2 separate regions of the Homo sapiens genome follow, and region 2 is linked to region 1. Evidence: promoter capture Hi-C in 16 types of primary human blood cells and fetal thymus (Javierre and others, 2016). All regions are on one chromosome and are shown on one strand. The core of a region is centred on a gene start or on the middle of the fragment in contact, and the rest is flanking DNA. Distances in the headings are between cores, read along the strand shown.

The links. The method cuts DNA at HindIII sites, captures the fragments that hold promoters and counts their contacts. A CHiCAGO score of 5 or more calls a contact.
Region 2: the fragment with the promoter of PPP1R3E here is called in contact with the fragment with the promoter of PIP4P1 in region 1 in 1 of 17 cell types (erythroblasts); the score reaches 5.2 in erythroblasts.

The regions. Positions count from the first base shown.
Region 1 is chr14:20,458,676-20,466,495 of GRCh38, reverse strand. PIP4P1 (phosphatidylinositol-4,5-bisphosphate 4-phosphatase 1) reads left to right here and starts at 5,062. Exons shown (of 7, transcript NM_144568.4): 1 at 5,062-5,312; 2 at 5,651-5,841; 3 at 6,198-6,304; 4 at 6,763-6,868; 5 at 7,056-7,108; 6 at 7,200-7,290; 7 at 7,794-7,820. The coding sequence starts at 5,171. RefSeq lists enhancers at 4,398-4,477, 3,810-4,775, 4,778-4,847, 4,776-5,742 and silencers at 4,968-5,377, 5,438-5,607. The HindIII fragment of the contact is 6,669 bases long and covers 4,496-7,820 here.
Region 2 is chr14:23,299,145-23,306,964 of GRCh38, reverse strand. PPP1R3E (protein phosphatase 1 regulatory subunit 3E) reads left to right here and starts at 4,106. Exons shown (of 5, transcript NM_001276318.2): 1 at 4,106-4,805; 2 at 5,107-5,667; 3 at 6,101-6,207; 4 at 7,424-7,564. The coding sequence starts at 4,389. The coding sequence ends at 5,529. It overlaps BCL2L2-PABPN1 (BCL2L2-PABPN1 readthrough), which reads right to left and starts at 132. Exons shown (of 8, transcript NM_001387346.1): 1 at 71-132. BCL2L2 (BCL2 like 2) reads right to left here and starts at 132. Exons shown (of 4, transcript NM_004050.5): 1 at 71-132. RefSeq lists silencers at 4,320-4,829, 4,910-4,969, 4,980-5,409 and an enhancer at 5,470-5,659. The HindIII fragment of the contact is 16,311 bases long and covers 886-7,820 here.

The sequences.
Region 1 (7,820 bases), core at 3,813-6,312:
ACAGGAGGATTACTTGAGCCCAGGAGTTTGAGACCAGCCTGAGCAACATGGTGAAGTCTCATCTCTACAAAAAATACAAAAATTAGCCAGGTGTGGTGGCATCTGTGGTCCCAGCTACTAGGGAGGCTGAGGCAGGAGAATCACCTGAGCCCAGGAAGTCAAGGCTGCAGTGAGCTGTGATGGAGCCACTGCACTCCAGTCTGAGTGACAGAGTGAGACCCTATCTCAAAAAATAAAATAAAATATCTACTCCCCTTATCACCATAATCTTTGGTCTTCCATTTTCTCCAATTACTGAAATTAAAACATTTTAGGGTTTTTCCCTGTTTTTTTTTTGTTGTTGTTTGTTTGTTTGTTTTTAGATAGGGTCTCGCTCTGCCACCCAGGCTGGAGTGTAGTGGCTCAATCTCAGCTCACTGCAGCCTCAATCTCCTAGGCTCAAGCGATCCTCTTTCCTCTGCCTCCCAAGTAGCTAGGACTACAGGCACGCACCACCGCATTCGCCTATTTTTTATTTTTATTTTTTTAGAGATGGGGTATCTTCATGTTGCCCAGGCTGGTCTCAAACTCCTGGGCTCAAGTGATCCTCCCACCTCAGCCTCCCAAAGTACTGGGATTATGGGCATGAACCAGCACATCCAGCCCTTCTCTTTCTGTTATAGGGATCACTTTTATTTCTCTTTTCTAAGAGTGAGACTTCCATCTGTGCCTCACTCAGTGGCAGGAAGAACAGAGCAGAGATAAAGGACTGGCCTACCACCCTCTATTCCAAAGACCTTGGCTCCTAGAAAGGGAAGCCAGGAATTCCCTAAAGGAAAGAGCAAAGAACTGAGGCCCAGGAAGAGCAAGGAGCACAAGGGAGCAAAGTCCCAATGTAATTAACGTAAATTAATTCTTTAAAACCAGGTCACACCCTACCCAATCCCACCCAACCCCCGGCAAACTACCCCTCGTCTTAGTTAACTCACTCTGCACATTACCAGAAACTTTCTGTGCCTTTGAAATGCAGTAAGGGATTGTGTTGTTTTCACACAGGTGGTAAATTACCACTTCAGGAAAGAGGAAAAAAGAAATAGGGCATGTGGAATATGTGAAAAAAAAGAAATCAGATTGGGACACTTTGGGTCATAGAAGCCAAGCAGATGTTTTCCACCCCATCCTCTGGCCATGTACACACTGTACTAGTTATCACTTTGTTGGAAATCTAAAGAAAAAAATGCTTTGAAATCTATTCTATTATATAACACAATGAAGTGTGTTCCCCCAAATTCTTATATTGACGCTCTAATCCTCATTGTGACTATATTTGGAGATAAGTCCTTTAAAAAGGTAATTAAGTTTAAATGAGGTCATAATGGTGGGGCCACAATCCAATAAGACTGTTGTTCTCATAAGAAGAAGAGAGGCCAGGCAGGGTGGTGCTCACCTGTAATCCCAGCATTTGGACACCAAAGCAAGAGGATCACTTGAGCCCAGGAGTTAGAGACCAATGACCAGCCTGGGCAACATAGTGAGACCCTGTCTCTACAAAAAATTAAAATATTAGCTAGGCATGGTGGCATGCACCTGTCATCCCAGCTACTTGGGAGACTGAGGTGGCAGGACTGCTTGTGCCCAGGAGTTCAAGGCCGCCACAGACTATGACTGCACCACTGCACTCCTGCCTGGGTGACAGAGTGAGACCCTGTCTCTAAAAGCACGGAAAAAGAAGAGAAAGAGGAAGAGAAAGCAAAAATGTGTGTAGAGAAAAGGCCATTTATGCCACAGTGAGAAGGTGGCCATCTGTAAGCTAAGGAGAGAAGCCTCAGGAGAAAGCAAACCTGCCAATATCTTGATCTTGGGCTTCCAGACTCCAGAGCTGTGAGAAAATAAATGTTTGTCGTTTATGCTATCTATAGTGTTTTTTATGTCCTAGCAAATTAATACACCTCAATAGCCTAACTGTTCTCAATCTAAGTGAGAAGATCCCACCCCATAGGTAAAAATCAGGCAATACCTGAGACACTCAATATTTACCAGAGATAATATTAAAATGGCTTATCTGTAAAATACAGGTACCAACCAATCAGAACCAATGGCGCCATAAACAACCAATGCCAGCCACCCTGTAGTGCCCCAGCTGAATATCCTCCCTGCTTGCAACTGCAGCTAACAATATTGTTCAGTACCCAGCAAATTTATCCCAAGATGGGGCTTAAGTTACTTCATTAATTAATTAGAGAGCCATCTATCAAGCAGCTTCTATGTTCCAGGCATTTAGCATAAAAGGGGGCTCATCCCAAGCACCTTCTCTCTGCCACTTCTGTGCTTCTGTCCCTTTCAATCTACCTATCAAATTATTTGAATGTAAAATATTAGATCATAAGTCAGAAGACGGGGATTTAGAGCTCCATTTCAATCTGTCACTTAGCTTAAATGACTCCAGTTTACACAGCCTCAGTTTCCACATCTGTAAAATAAAGATATAGTCTTGCCTTCCCTGTCCACATCACAGTGGGTTCTGAAATAAAATGAATATAACTATGAATGTGCTTTATTGGCCGGGCACAGTGGCTCACGCCTGTAATCCCAGCACTTTGGGAGGCCGAGGCGGGTGAATCACGAGTTCAAGTGATTGAGACCATCCTGGCCAACATGGTGAAACCCCATCTCTACTAAAAATACAAAAATTAGCTGGGTGTGGTGGCACACACTTGTAATCCCAACTACTCGGGAGGCTGAGGCAGGAGAATCGCTTGATCCCGGGAGGTGGGCAGAGATCACACCACTGCACTCCAGCCTGGCGACAGAGTGAGACTCTGTCTCAAAAAAAAAAATGCTTTATTAACTGTGAGCAAGTTCCAAATATTATGATTACTTTTTGCATTTTTCTGCCTATTGATCTACTCAACAACACAGAGCTCAGATCCTAGTTATCCATGCACAATACTCATTTTTCTTTATGTTTTAGAAGTTTTCTCTGGCTGCTCTAGCTAGAAGTGATCTCTTCTTTTCTTGAACTTGAATTACATTGTTTAATTCTTTTATTATGAAGCATGTGCTGTATCATGAATTTCTAGTATTGATATTTTTCCATGTAATAAAATACTAGTGCTGATTTTCTTTTTTTTTTTTTTTTTTTTGAGACACGATCTTGCTCTGTTGCCCAGGTTTAGATCATGGCTCATTGTAACCTTGAACTCCTGGGCTCAAGCAATCCTCCACCTCAGCCTCCCAAAACACCGGGATTACAGGCATGAGCCACCACTCCTGACCTGATATGTTATACTGTCAATGTTTACACTATTCTGTCTCCCTACCCAGAGTGTAAGCTTTTTTAAGGAGTGTCTTTCACAAAGTGTAGATATTTAAAAAATATTTTTAGGACAGTTTTTGGAATATATGTGTAACTAGGGCGCAAATAATGGATCCTACTCCAACCCCAGACAATGCTTGAGCATCTGTGTGCCACAAACAGCAGAAAAAGCAGCAGACTGGCCTCCCTCTATGGAGCTACAACCTCTTCCCTATTTTGTATCTGGAGCTTCCTTAGTTCTTTAAGTGTCTGTTAGGGGCTCTTATCTAACTGGTCGAAGGTTACTAGCTTCCAAGTAGAAGTTGGCCTGAGAAAACCCTGTCTAAAAAAATCAGGACCTAGGTGAAGTCTCCAGCCCCTGTAGCAGCCAAGTGCTGGGACATCTGCAGTTCCTTTGTTATTACATATTTGGGGCTGGCTGTACTTTCTTTGATGCACTTCCTTTCTTAGTGGAGAGTCTGCTAGCCAAACTGATAATGGACCTCCTCGGGGTTTATTGTTTTTATCAATTCCTTGTTGCTTCCCATATTTAAAGCAGTCCCAGTTTGGGCTATGACTTGGGAAAAAATCCAGGTGTGGTTCAGGCGCCCATAAAGACCACACGAGACTTCAGGTAGGGGAGGAGGCACTGCCCCTTTGCTGGAAGCAAAGTTGAGACAGGCCTAAAGACTGTCCCATCTGTCAAATAAGGTGACGAAAATAACCTTGTATTTGATTAATCCAATCTACAAACTTGTGCGTATGTTAAAGGTTGGTGGTCATAAAACTGAGTAAAGGCACGGTGGCTTGTCCCTGTAGTCCCAGCTACTGGGAAGGCTTAGGCAGGAGATCAAACTCAGGAGTTTGAGTCCAGCATAGGCAAGACCCCATCTCTATTGAATTTTTTTTTTTTTTTTTTTAGTAAAACGATGAAATCTTCTAGTAGTGGAGACACTAATGAAAAGATAATTTAACAATTTGATCAGCAATGGGGAAAGACGGGGCTCTGTAAGGACAGCTTCCAGGAAAACCCAGTCTTGTGTCCTGTCCTGAAAGTGACTCTAGCGACAAAGGCTGGAGTGATAATCTTAACTTTTTAATCCATTTCCTTCTGGTACCTCATTACTCTGACTTTTTAAAGGTACTTCTTTGAGTAGAACAGCTAACTTTGTCTACTGTTCCCCACCGTCCATTTTCTCCCCGCTCAGAAGATCCCAAGCTTCCGCACTCCTTTATTGCACCCGCCCAGCCTCCTTTAAAATGCATAAGCCACGCCCCCCATGTTCTGGCGCTAAGTTCGGGCCAATGCAGTTGCGCCGCTAGGATCACAGGACGAAAGAAGTAAAGTCACCAGCCAATAGGAAACCAGCTACAACGCAAAGCCGGAGAAAAGTGTTTTAGTGGTGTCTTTGAACCAATGAGGAGCAGAGCAACAGGGACCGTGCAGCTTCCAGAAACACGTGACCAGTTGAGCAGACGCAGCCTAGCCCTACCTCCTGGTCTGGAGGTAGCGCGATGGGCGTCGCTCCCAATAGCTTGCAGAACCTCTAGTCACGTGCAGGTTTTGCAAGCCCAGCAGCATCTGGCAGGTCATGTGACAGTTGACGTTTGTGCGTCGCTCCCCAATGGAAAAGGAGAGCTGCCTTCACAGGACCAGGAATTGGTTTATCTACGCGAATAATAGCATGACCCGGGCGGGGATAGCCTATCACGTGCTGCTAGACGGAACGGGGCGGGGCAGGCCACTGGTTGCGGAGTGAGCTGGGCGCGCGGCGCGCAGGCGCCCTGGGGACCCGGTAGCGGCGGTGGCGGTGGCGGCGGTGGCGGTGGCTGCGGCGACGGCAGAGGCGAAGGGAGCCGGATCGCCGACCTGAGCGGGAGGCGGCGGTGGCGGCCATGGCGGCAGATGGAGAGCGTTCCCCGCTGCTGTCTGAGCCCATCGACGGTGGCGCGGGCGGCAACGGTTTAGTGGGGCCCGGCGGGAGTGGGGCTGGGCCCGGGGGAGGCCTGACCCCCTCCGCACCACCGTACGGAGCCGGTAAACATGCCCCGCCCCAGGGTAAGCCGGGGCGGGTCCGAGGTGCTCCCCGGGGTACTCTGAAAGCCGGGGAGGGGGCGGGACCGAGGGCGGAGGCGGGTCCCAGTCGCCAGGTGCGGGACTGCTGCACCTGTGACTGGGCGAGGCTTCCTTCCCTCCGTAATCGCGACCACAGCCTAGGGACGGAAGGGGGTTCTGAGCAACCTGATAGAAGTGCCAATTATGAGAAGCCCTCCGAGCTTGGTCAGAGGGTTGAAGATCAGAAGGACTTCCCTACCACCGTGGAGCATCAGTGGGGGTGTAAGTGATCCCAGCCCTTCTATTTGCTTCCTCTCCAGCATTTCCCCCGTTTCCCGAGGGGCATCCAGCCGTGTTGCCTGGGGAGGACCCACCCCCCTATTCACCCTTAACTAGCCCGGACAGTGGGAGTGCCCCTATGATCACCTGCCGAGTCTGCCAATCTCTCATCAACGTGGAAGGCAAGATGCATCAGCATGTAGTCAAATGTGGTGTCTGCAATGAAGCCACCGTGAGTTACACATATCTATGAAATGGGCCCTGTTTCCTGGATCCTCTTTCTGATGTCTTGGTTCTAGACCCTGACCTTCCGGCTATTAGCCAAGTGCTTTTGATGATACCCAGGTTTCAGTTCCAGGTGTCTCACACAGCCATTTCCCCAGAAGCCACTCACCAAAGCTAATGTTCACTTTCTCTCACTTTTACACCTAGCCTAGTTCCTATTTGCAAATCTCATGATATAGTCTTTCTTTTATTTCTCCTTCCTGGTTAGCACCTTATTTTTCTGATCTCATAAAGTGTTTTTGGAGGGAAGTGGAGGGGATTGGGATTAGAGGTTTGCTTGCTGATGACCCTATTATTCTCTAGCCAATCAAGAATGCACCCCCAGGGAAAAAATATGTTCGATGCCCCTGTAACTGTCTCCTTATCTGCAAAGTGACATCCCAACGGATTGCATGCCCTCGGCCCTACTGGTAAGAGGCATAAGGTGGGGAAGGGCCTAAGTGGGGAACTGGAAAGTCAAAAAAGGATGAGCGTATACAGAGAATGTAAAGGTGAGAGAGCCTAGTGTTTATTTAGGAGAAAAGGCTTTGAAGCATGTGCCTCAGGAATGTTATAGCTGTCTTTCTCGTTTCTCAATAAAAATATTGAGATGAAATGATGTCGTTTCGGAGAATAGAGAGCCTTGGGGACTGGGTGTGTTATCCTGAGGTCGGAGGGGAATTGGGGACCTGAAGTTTAAACAGTGCTCTTTCTTTCTCAAGGATTCTTGAGGGTATACAGTTGGGGGACAGAGTATCTTAAGTACAGAGAAGTCGAGTGACTTAATAGACAGGGAGTGGGGGATGTGGAACAGGGACTGTGAAGATTTTTAGGATTAAAAATTTTTCAAACACAAGTTTGAAAATACAAGTCTTTTTCTTTTGTATAGCAAAAGAATCATCAACCTGGGGCCTGTGCATCCCGGACCTCTGAGTCCAGAACCCCAACCCATGGGTGTCAGGGTTATCTGTGGACATTGCAAGAATACTTTTCTGGTGAGGAAGGGGTATTGGGAAGGGGAGGGGAAAGGAGACTAAGAGTCATTTCGAGTATATTTCTTAGAGTAATGGTAATGACCCCTGAAAGGTCTGTCCTATGGGAACATGTTCTGCATCCCCACCCCAAGGTTCTCATTGAGGGAGACCCTGCTTGTGCTATTATTTTTGTTTTCTTTCTCCATAGTGGACAGAGTTCACAGACCGCACTTTGGCACGTTGTCCTCACTGCAGGAAAGTGTAAGTGATTAGGGATTGAGCTGGTAATTGATGTATGGAGTAAAAACTACAAGGCCATAGAAAGCATCCATTTCTATTTGCCTCCCCACAGGTCATCTATTGGGCGCAGATACCCACGTAAGAGATGTATCTGCTGCTTCTTGCTTGGCTTGCTTTTGGCAGTCACTGCCACTGGCCTTGCCGTGAGTACCCTTGCCCCAACCTCTTTCATTCTGCAGCCTCATCTCCATAGGCTAAGATTTGGGAAACTGCTACCCTAAAAAAAAGTGGAAGAAACTTGGGGGACTAGTTTGTTTTGTTTTAAGATATGGATGAGCTAAAGTGCAAAGTGGCTGATCAAACAGACTTTATTACTACTACAAGAGTGAAAAACAGCCTTCCTTTCTCTGTAGGATGAGGATAGGACAGTGAAATTCTTAATTTAAGAGTTGCTATTTTTCAAACCTGGCTCAGTTGTCAGATATTAAGAAAAACTGAGATACAGTGTGGGATGGGATGAGTATGTTACGCCTAAGGGAAGGAAGCTGATCAGCTCTGCCTTTAAGAAGGTCCCTGAGGGTGGCTACATGTGGATAAGGAACAAGGACTGAAGCGTGAGTTATTACTGTTCTTAGAACTAATAGGAGGTAGTGGAGACCAACATTAACCCCATCTTTCTTTTCTTCTCCCTCCTTATCTTCATCAGTTTGGCACATGGAAGCATGCACGGCGA
Region 2 (7,820 bases), core at 2,857-5,356, 2.8 Mb before region 1:
CCCAGCTCCTCCCTTACCCCCACCTCAGCCAGTCTCCAACCCCGCCCGCCTGCCAGGTTAGGGATCTCACGGGTCAGGCCGCTGCCGGGATCCGGGCCGTTTCCTGGTGCAGGAGCTGGGAGGGAGGGAGAGAGGGAGGAAGGGAGGGAAGGAAGGAGGGAGGAGAAAGGGGGGGGCAGAGGGAGGGCCCGGCGCCGGGTGATGATGGGGCCCAGAGATGCGTCCAGAGAGAGGGGCGGGGCTGGGACGCAGGCCTGCAAAGGGCCACTACTCAGGAAGAGGGAGGGCTGCTGAAGGCAAAGAAGGGCTGGCTGAGAGGGCACGGTGGGCTGGGCTGGGCTGGGCTCCTGAGCCTCTAGGCTGCCCAGAGAAATATGCCGGACTTCGGGACATCTCGGGGCAAATTTAGCATTTTCAGGAGGTTTCCGATGTTCCATGCACTTGTTGAACTTTTCCAGCCCTGAACTGTGTGCCTGGAAAACAGGAGCAGTTCCCATTAAGCTGGGAACCGTCTACCAGGTGCCTTACCCTTATGGGGCTAGCAGACACCACATAGACACCAAACCTTTCCCATCTTTTCTCCAGGACCTTTAACCCAGTGTTCTCTTTGTGGGCTGGGCTTCAGCCAGGCATTAGGGAGCCAGGACTTGGATCACAAGCAGTTTCTCTCGGTACTTTTCTTTAATTCATCTTCTTTTGTAATTAGATTGATTTTAGTGGGGTTTTTTTCTTTTTCTTTTTTTTACCCAACACACAAACTCATTCTCATTATGAAAAAAATCAAACAATAAAGACGTGCGGAGTAATAAAATACAGGTTCTCAAACACACACACACATACACACCCAATTCCACTTCCCTCCCTGCAGGTTGCCAGTGTTAAGCTTGATGTTTATCCTTCCAGATTACATATATATGGGGCCATTATTTATACATGGCAGTATATTTATACAGGGCAGGTCACAGGCGTGAAGCAGTCTGACCATAGCTGATCCACATGAGGGCACTCACAGCCAGCCCCCTGGGCTCTTGGATCTGGCACTTTTTTAAAGAGTGCCCCAACCAAAGGCCAGAAAGAGGCAACCTAATTCTCCTATTCTGCTAGCTCCCTTTGCTTCTACCTCCAATCCAAGCCTCTGTATTACCATCTTCCCTTATGGTCACTGGAGAAGCAAGGTCTTTTCTGCAGCAATAACAGTAACAACTAGCTGGGTTCGGTGGCTCATACCTGTAATCCCAACACTTTGGGAGGCCAAGGCGGGTGGATCACTTGAGGCCAGGAGTTCGAGACCAGCCTGACCAACATGGCAAAACCCCATCTCTACTAAAAATACAAAAATTAGCCAGACGTAAAATACAAAAATTAGCCAGCCTGTAATCCCAGCTGCTCAGGAGGCTGAGGCATGAGAATCACTTGAACCCAGGAGGCTGAGATCATGCCACTGCACTCCAGACTGGGTGATAGAACGAGACTCTATCTCAAAAAAAAAAAAAGGTAAAAACTAACATATTTTGAGGAGTTATTAGATGCTGTGCTTTTTTTACATGTGTATTTTTTCCTCTCACCAGTCCTTATGCTGTTTTATCCTCATTCTATGAATGAGGAAATTGAGGTTTGGAGAGGTTAAGTGATTTTCCCAAAGCCATAGGCTGATATGTAAGAAGCTAGCACAGCCATCTCATGCTGTAACTTTGACACTATCGCTTCAAGATCACCTCTTGCCTTCACATAGTCAATATGGTTCTCATAGTCTGAATCCACACCATTTACAAGTCCATACTCAATTCTCTCCTCTATTCTAAACACACAGCCTATTACACTCCTTTATGGCTGTATCCTTTCAACCATCCTCATTTCATTTTTGCTCTTAGCCTGATCATTCTGGCTGCCACCAGCAAGGTTGCCCTCTTCTTTAGAGAATAACCTAGTCCAAGTCTTCATTTGCACTCCTGGTTTATTTGTTTGTTTGTGATACAAGGTTCTCACTCCATGGCCTAAACTGGAGTGCAGTGGTACAAGCACAGTTCACTTCAGCTTCCACCGTCTAGGCTCAAGCAATCTTCCCACTTCAGCCTCCCTGGTAGCTGGGACTAGAGGTGTACTGCACCATGCTTGGTTAAATTCATTTTTTATAGAGATAGGGATCTCATTATGTTGCCCAGACTGATCTCAAACTCCTGGGCCAGCTTGATTGTAACATAAATTAATGTATGATTTATTAGACATTAATTTATATGCATTATATATATTATATTGTATATGCATATACAATATATACATTGTATATATTGTATCACATATAATGATACGAAGAGAATACATCCATGCATTCTATATACGTGTAAAATTTAAAAAGTCAATATTGCTTTAAAAATGAGTCCTAGCTAACTAGTATTGCTACAGTCAATACTAGTGCGAATGCATGTAAACAGGAATGAATTGTATAATAATAAGATAACATGTGTCTCATGGTTTATTTTCAACTTAGTCACTTGTGGTTTTACAGTTAAACTATCCTGCTGCTTTAAATTTAGAGACTTCATTTCTACTCTAATATTCCCTCTTTTAACACTCTGAGGATGTTAACTATTATTGTTAAATGTTTTAATCTTATATAACCAAGCGGGTAAGAGCGTGGACTCTAGAGCTAAACTGTTTAGGTCCTAATCCCACCTCCCCAATTATTAACTATGTGACCCTGGGTAAGAGTCCTCTCCCCTCTCTCCCTCAATTCTCTCATCTTTAAACTAGACATAATAGTCTCTATTCCTCTGATGGTTGTATTACATGGGTTAGTATTTGTAAAACCCTTACAACAGTACCTAGCACATTGTAAGTGCTATATTAGATCAGTAGGAAAGTTAGAAAAAAACTAAAAACAACTTCACTTTTTTTTTTCACTAATGTTAAAAAAAAAAAATGAAAGGGGAAAAAGCCAGCTCTGCCCTTCTTGGAAGCTCCCACTGGACCTATAATTCCACAGTCCCAACTCCAAGAGAGTTGTTGGGTGCTTGTTCATTCAATAATTTGAGTGCCTACCATATACTAAAACTCACCATGAATCAGACAAAGCCCCTGCCCTCAAAGGGCTTACACTTGGATTAGAAATCAGAACTCCACCACTTTTTTACAGATAAGAACACTGAGTTCAGAGTATGGCTCTGAGTTCAGGGGTGGCTCACACCTGTAATCCCAGCACTTTGGGAGGCCGAGGCGGGCAGATCACCTGAGATCAGGAGTTCAAGACCAGCCTGGCCAAGATGGTGAAACCCCGTGTCTACTAAAAATACAAAAATTAGCCGGGCGTGGTGGTGGACGCCTGTAATCCCAGCTACTCAGGAGGCTGAGGCAGGAAAACCGCTTGAACCGGGGAGGCAGAAGTTGCAGTGAGCCGAGATCACGCCACTGCACTCCAGCCTGGGCGACAGAGCGAGACTCCATCTCACACTCACACACACACACACACACACACACACACGAGAACACTGACTCCAGAGAAGTTATGCCTTGCTTGCTCAAGGTCACTAGAAGCTAGGTCTTCCTGCAGTTCTCAGTTCGGGTGCCATATTCTCACCTTCTATTTGAAAGACTCTACCTAGCTTTCATGACCTTTCCTTCTTTGCACGCACCACCACCCCCTGCCCAAACCAGGAGCCTAGGTTTCAGAAAAGAAAACAGTGAACCCCAAAGATAAAGTCACATGCTGGGCGTTTTGAACCTTCCCCTGCAAGAAAATGAAAGGTTATTTTTTCTTCCCGGCGTTAACCTTTCCTGTGCTGTGCCGGAAAAGTTGAGGACTTTTTACATTTTATTATTATTATTATTGTAGAGATCAGGGGTCTCACTATGACGCCCAGGCTGGTCTTGAACTCCAGGCTTCAAGCGATCCTCCCACCTCGGCCTCCCAAAGTGCTGGGATTTGAGGCGTGAGCCATCGCGTCCCGTCCGTGGATGTTTTTTTTAAAAGGTTGAGTAGCTTCACTCGGGACCGCAAAGGTGGAGTCCCCGCCCCCTGGTGCAGCAGCGAAGACAAGCGGAGCCACCTGTCAGAGGGCTGTGGGCGGGGGCGCCCGGGCCGTGAGGGCCTTGGAACCGGAGGGTGAGTGCAGTTGAGCGCACGCTCAGAGCAGACCGCTAGCAGGAGGCAGGATGTGATAGTCTAAGACCCTGGAAGCTGACGGCCAGAGGGAGGGAAGGGTGGTCACAGAGGAGAGGCAAAGCAACGGGAGGTGGAGGATCCTGGAGGTGTCTGCAAGGAGAATACACAGCAGCGAGGGGCTGCAGAAGCGGACCCAGCGACTTCTGCGCTGACGCGGGGCGGGCGGGAGAGAGGAAGAGAGGGGAGCGCGGTGGCGCTGCGAGCTGGCCCCGCCGGGGAAGGGGCTGCCATGTCCCGTGAGCGGCCCCCGGGCACCGACATTCCCCGCAACCTGAGCTTCATCGCCGCGCTAACGGAGCGCGCCTACTACCGTAGCCAGCGGCCCAGCCTCGAGGAGGAGCCGGAGGAGGAGCCAGGCGAGGGCGGGACGCGGTTCGGGGCCCGATCCCGCGCTCACGCACCGAGTCGGGGCCGCCGGGCCCGATCTGCACCAGCCGGAGGCGGCGGGGCCCGGGCGCCCCGCAGCCGTAGCCCAGACACCCGCAAGAGAGTGCGTTTCGCCGACGCACTGGGGTTGGAGCTGGCTGTCGTGCGCCGCTTCCGTCCCGGTGAGCTGCCCCGGGTGCCCCGCCACGTGCAGATCCAATTGCAGAGGGACGCCCTCCGCCACTTCGCGCCCTGCCAGCCCCGCGCCCGCGGCCTCCAGGTAGGCGGCGGGGGCACCTCCCCTCCTGGGGACCTCCTCCAGTCGGCCGCAGCGGGCTTGTGGGAGTGGATTTGCCAAAGAGCACCCATCTCCATCCCATCCCTGGGCTTGCGCCTGCCCATCCCTTTTGGGGACCCCATCTGCGAGTGGCTCTAGGCCACCCTGGCAGCTGGGCCGCACTCTGCCGGCCTGGACGCCGGGGTCGGCCTCTGATTGGTCCAGTGCCTTGCTCTGACACCGCCCCCTGTCTCTCCCCTCTCTCCGCCCTGGGCTCCCTCCTCCCGCTTCTTCTTTCCCCCAGGAGGCGCGCGCCGCCCTGGAGCCGGCCAGCGAGCCCGGCTTCGCCGCCCGCTTGCTGACGCAGCGCATCTGCCTGGAACGCGCCGAGGCGGGCCCGCTGGGCGTGGCCGGGAGCGCGCGCGTGGTGGACCTGGCCTACGAGAAGCGCGTGAGCGTGCGCTGGAGCGCCGACGGCTGGCGGAGCCAACGCGAGGCGCCAGCCGCCTACGCCGGTCCGGCCCCGCCCCCGCCGCGCGCCGACCGCTTCGCCTTCCGCCTGCCCGCGCCGCCGATTGGGGGCGCCCTGCTCTTCGCCTTGCGCTACCGTGTGACAGGTCACGAGTTCTGGGACAACAACGGCGGCCGTGACTATGCTCTACGTGGGCCCGAGCACCCGGGCAGTGGCGGAGCTCCGGAGCCGCAGGGCTGGATCCACTTTATCTGAGACGAGGCGCCTGCGGCCGACGGCGGAAAACACCAAAGGCACCCGGGGGCGGGGCGACCCGATGTGGCGGGGAGGAGTAGGAGAGACCAGGATTGGCGGGAGCGGTCCAAGGGAGTCAAGCCGGGGAGGGCGAAAAGGGTGGGGAAATCAGGGGCGTGGGGGCGTGGGGGCGTGGGGGCGGGGGGAGTGAGCGGAACCAAAGAAGCTCCGGGAGATCCGGGTGTTAAAAGCTGGTTGGATGTGAGTGGAAGGAACTCAGAATATAGGAGGAAGGAGACCCGAAACGGCACCGGAGGGATTATAAAAAAAGGAAAAGAATGGGGATGATGGTGGCCTTCCCTTCAGTGAGTGGGCTCTGGGAGAAAGGGAGGAGGTCCATCAGGCCTAGGCGGTTGAAGAAGGTTAAGAACCTTTTGGAGATGGAGGAGGTATGATGTGAAGTAGCCCACCCAGTCGAAGGCATTTACATTGCTGGCGCATTCCCTCTTCTTACCGGCCTTTTCCACCTCAGATCCCCCTGTCCTACCCATCCTAGCTTTAACTCAGCCATAATTGCCTTGCTTAATCCCAGGAACCTGGCCACTGCTCCTTGGTCCTTGGCATTATGACGGGATTCCCTTGTCACCTCTGACAGTTCCTGGCTGCGGTGTCCGCGGACTGGCTGGGGAGTGATGACAGGTAGCTATCAGAGCTCCAGCCTCCAGGCAGCTTTAGGGATTAAAACGGAGGCCAAAGCAACTCCAGACCTGTTTTTATAGCCAAATACTGAGCCTCAGGGGTTGTACACTCAGGGGCTTCCAGGAAAATGCCAGCCTTACTTTTCTGGGGTGCCTTTTAATAACCTCCAAGCACTTTGTGGACTGTTTGTCGAGGGACGGTGAATCAGAAGAATCACTATTCTGATTTCCTTTGTCTCCGAAGAGGAAGTCCCTGACTAGCTATATAACTTTGGGCGAGTTACCTCTCACTTCTTTGTGCCCCAGTGTTCTCCTTGGGAAACTGGATTTAGGTTAGATGACCTTTTAAGGCTCCTTGTATGATATTTTGTGATCTGTACATGGCAGAGTATAGATTAGGAGCCAAATTTTCCAACCTAGTGCTATGGTTCAGAATACATAGCACCCCAAGCGTCTGGCTGGAGCCGAGGATGGGTCCTCCAGTTTTTGGCACAGATGTTCCGGAGCCCAGGAAGCATCCCATAACCAACCTTCAGCCCCACCGCCACCCCCAGCGTATTCCAGAGCCGCTTCCAAACCACAGCCTATCCTCTGCTCCATTTCACTCTTGTCCTCACAGACTTTCAGCCTCCATGCTCTGAGACAACTGTGGGTAGGTACATCTCTGTTGGTGGAAATGATGCTTAAGAACCCCAAAGATTAAAGGAAACAATGTTAAGGGCTTTTGTGAGGATAAAAGATAATGGGTATATGGAATAGAAACATTTCAAATGAAGAATCAAAGCATTTCAATCAATCCACTTGGTTGTAAAAAAAAAAAAAAAAAAAAAACAAAAACAAAAAAACACCAAAGCAACTTGAATAGTAAATGGCACCAGAAGATGGCAGTCTGCTCCATAACCAGAGCAAGTGCAGTGGGAAAGCTGGACTCTCATACCCACTCACATTCATGCCTTATATAAGCCTCTCCTCCTGGTTAACCTTAACAGGGGAGTGATTCCTCTGCTGGTTGCTGTTTTTCCTTTTCTCTTACCCTATTCCTAACCTCTTTGCTTCTCTCTTTCTTTCCTTGTGTCTCTTCCTTCTCTTTTCTTTTTTCTTTTAACATATAGGGTATTTTTTTCTTTTAACATATAGGGTATTTACCTTCATTTTGTTTATTTCCATTTGTTTCCTTCTTCATTCATGTTCATCTCTGCTATTCCTTCTCCCTCCAGAAGGGATGGAAACCCTATTTTCTTTTCTCCAAGACCATGGTTGGTCTGCTTCCCTCACTCGGGCTCCTTGACAGTCTTCTAGAAGAGAGAAGGAGGAAAAGAAGCAGTTCCTGATGTTACAAATGAACAAGGATCTCCCAGGTAACCAGCTCCCCACACCCATTTCTGTTACTAATTTCTCAAACAGAAATTTCTGGTTCCCCTTCTTCCTTATCACTGAGTGAAAGGGGACAGGCATGCACATGTGCCCATACATGCATTCAGAATAGAGTGTGGGGGCAGGGGCGGTAGTTCATTCCTGTAATCCCAGCACTTTGGGAGGCTGAGTTAGGTGGATCATTTGAGGTCAGGAGTTCAAGACTAGCCTGGCCAACATACTGAAACCCTGTCTCTACTA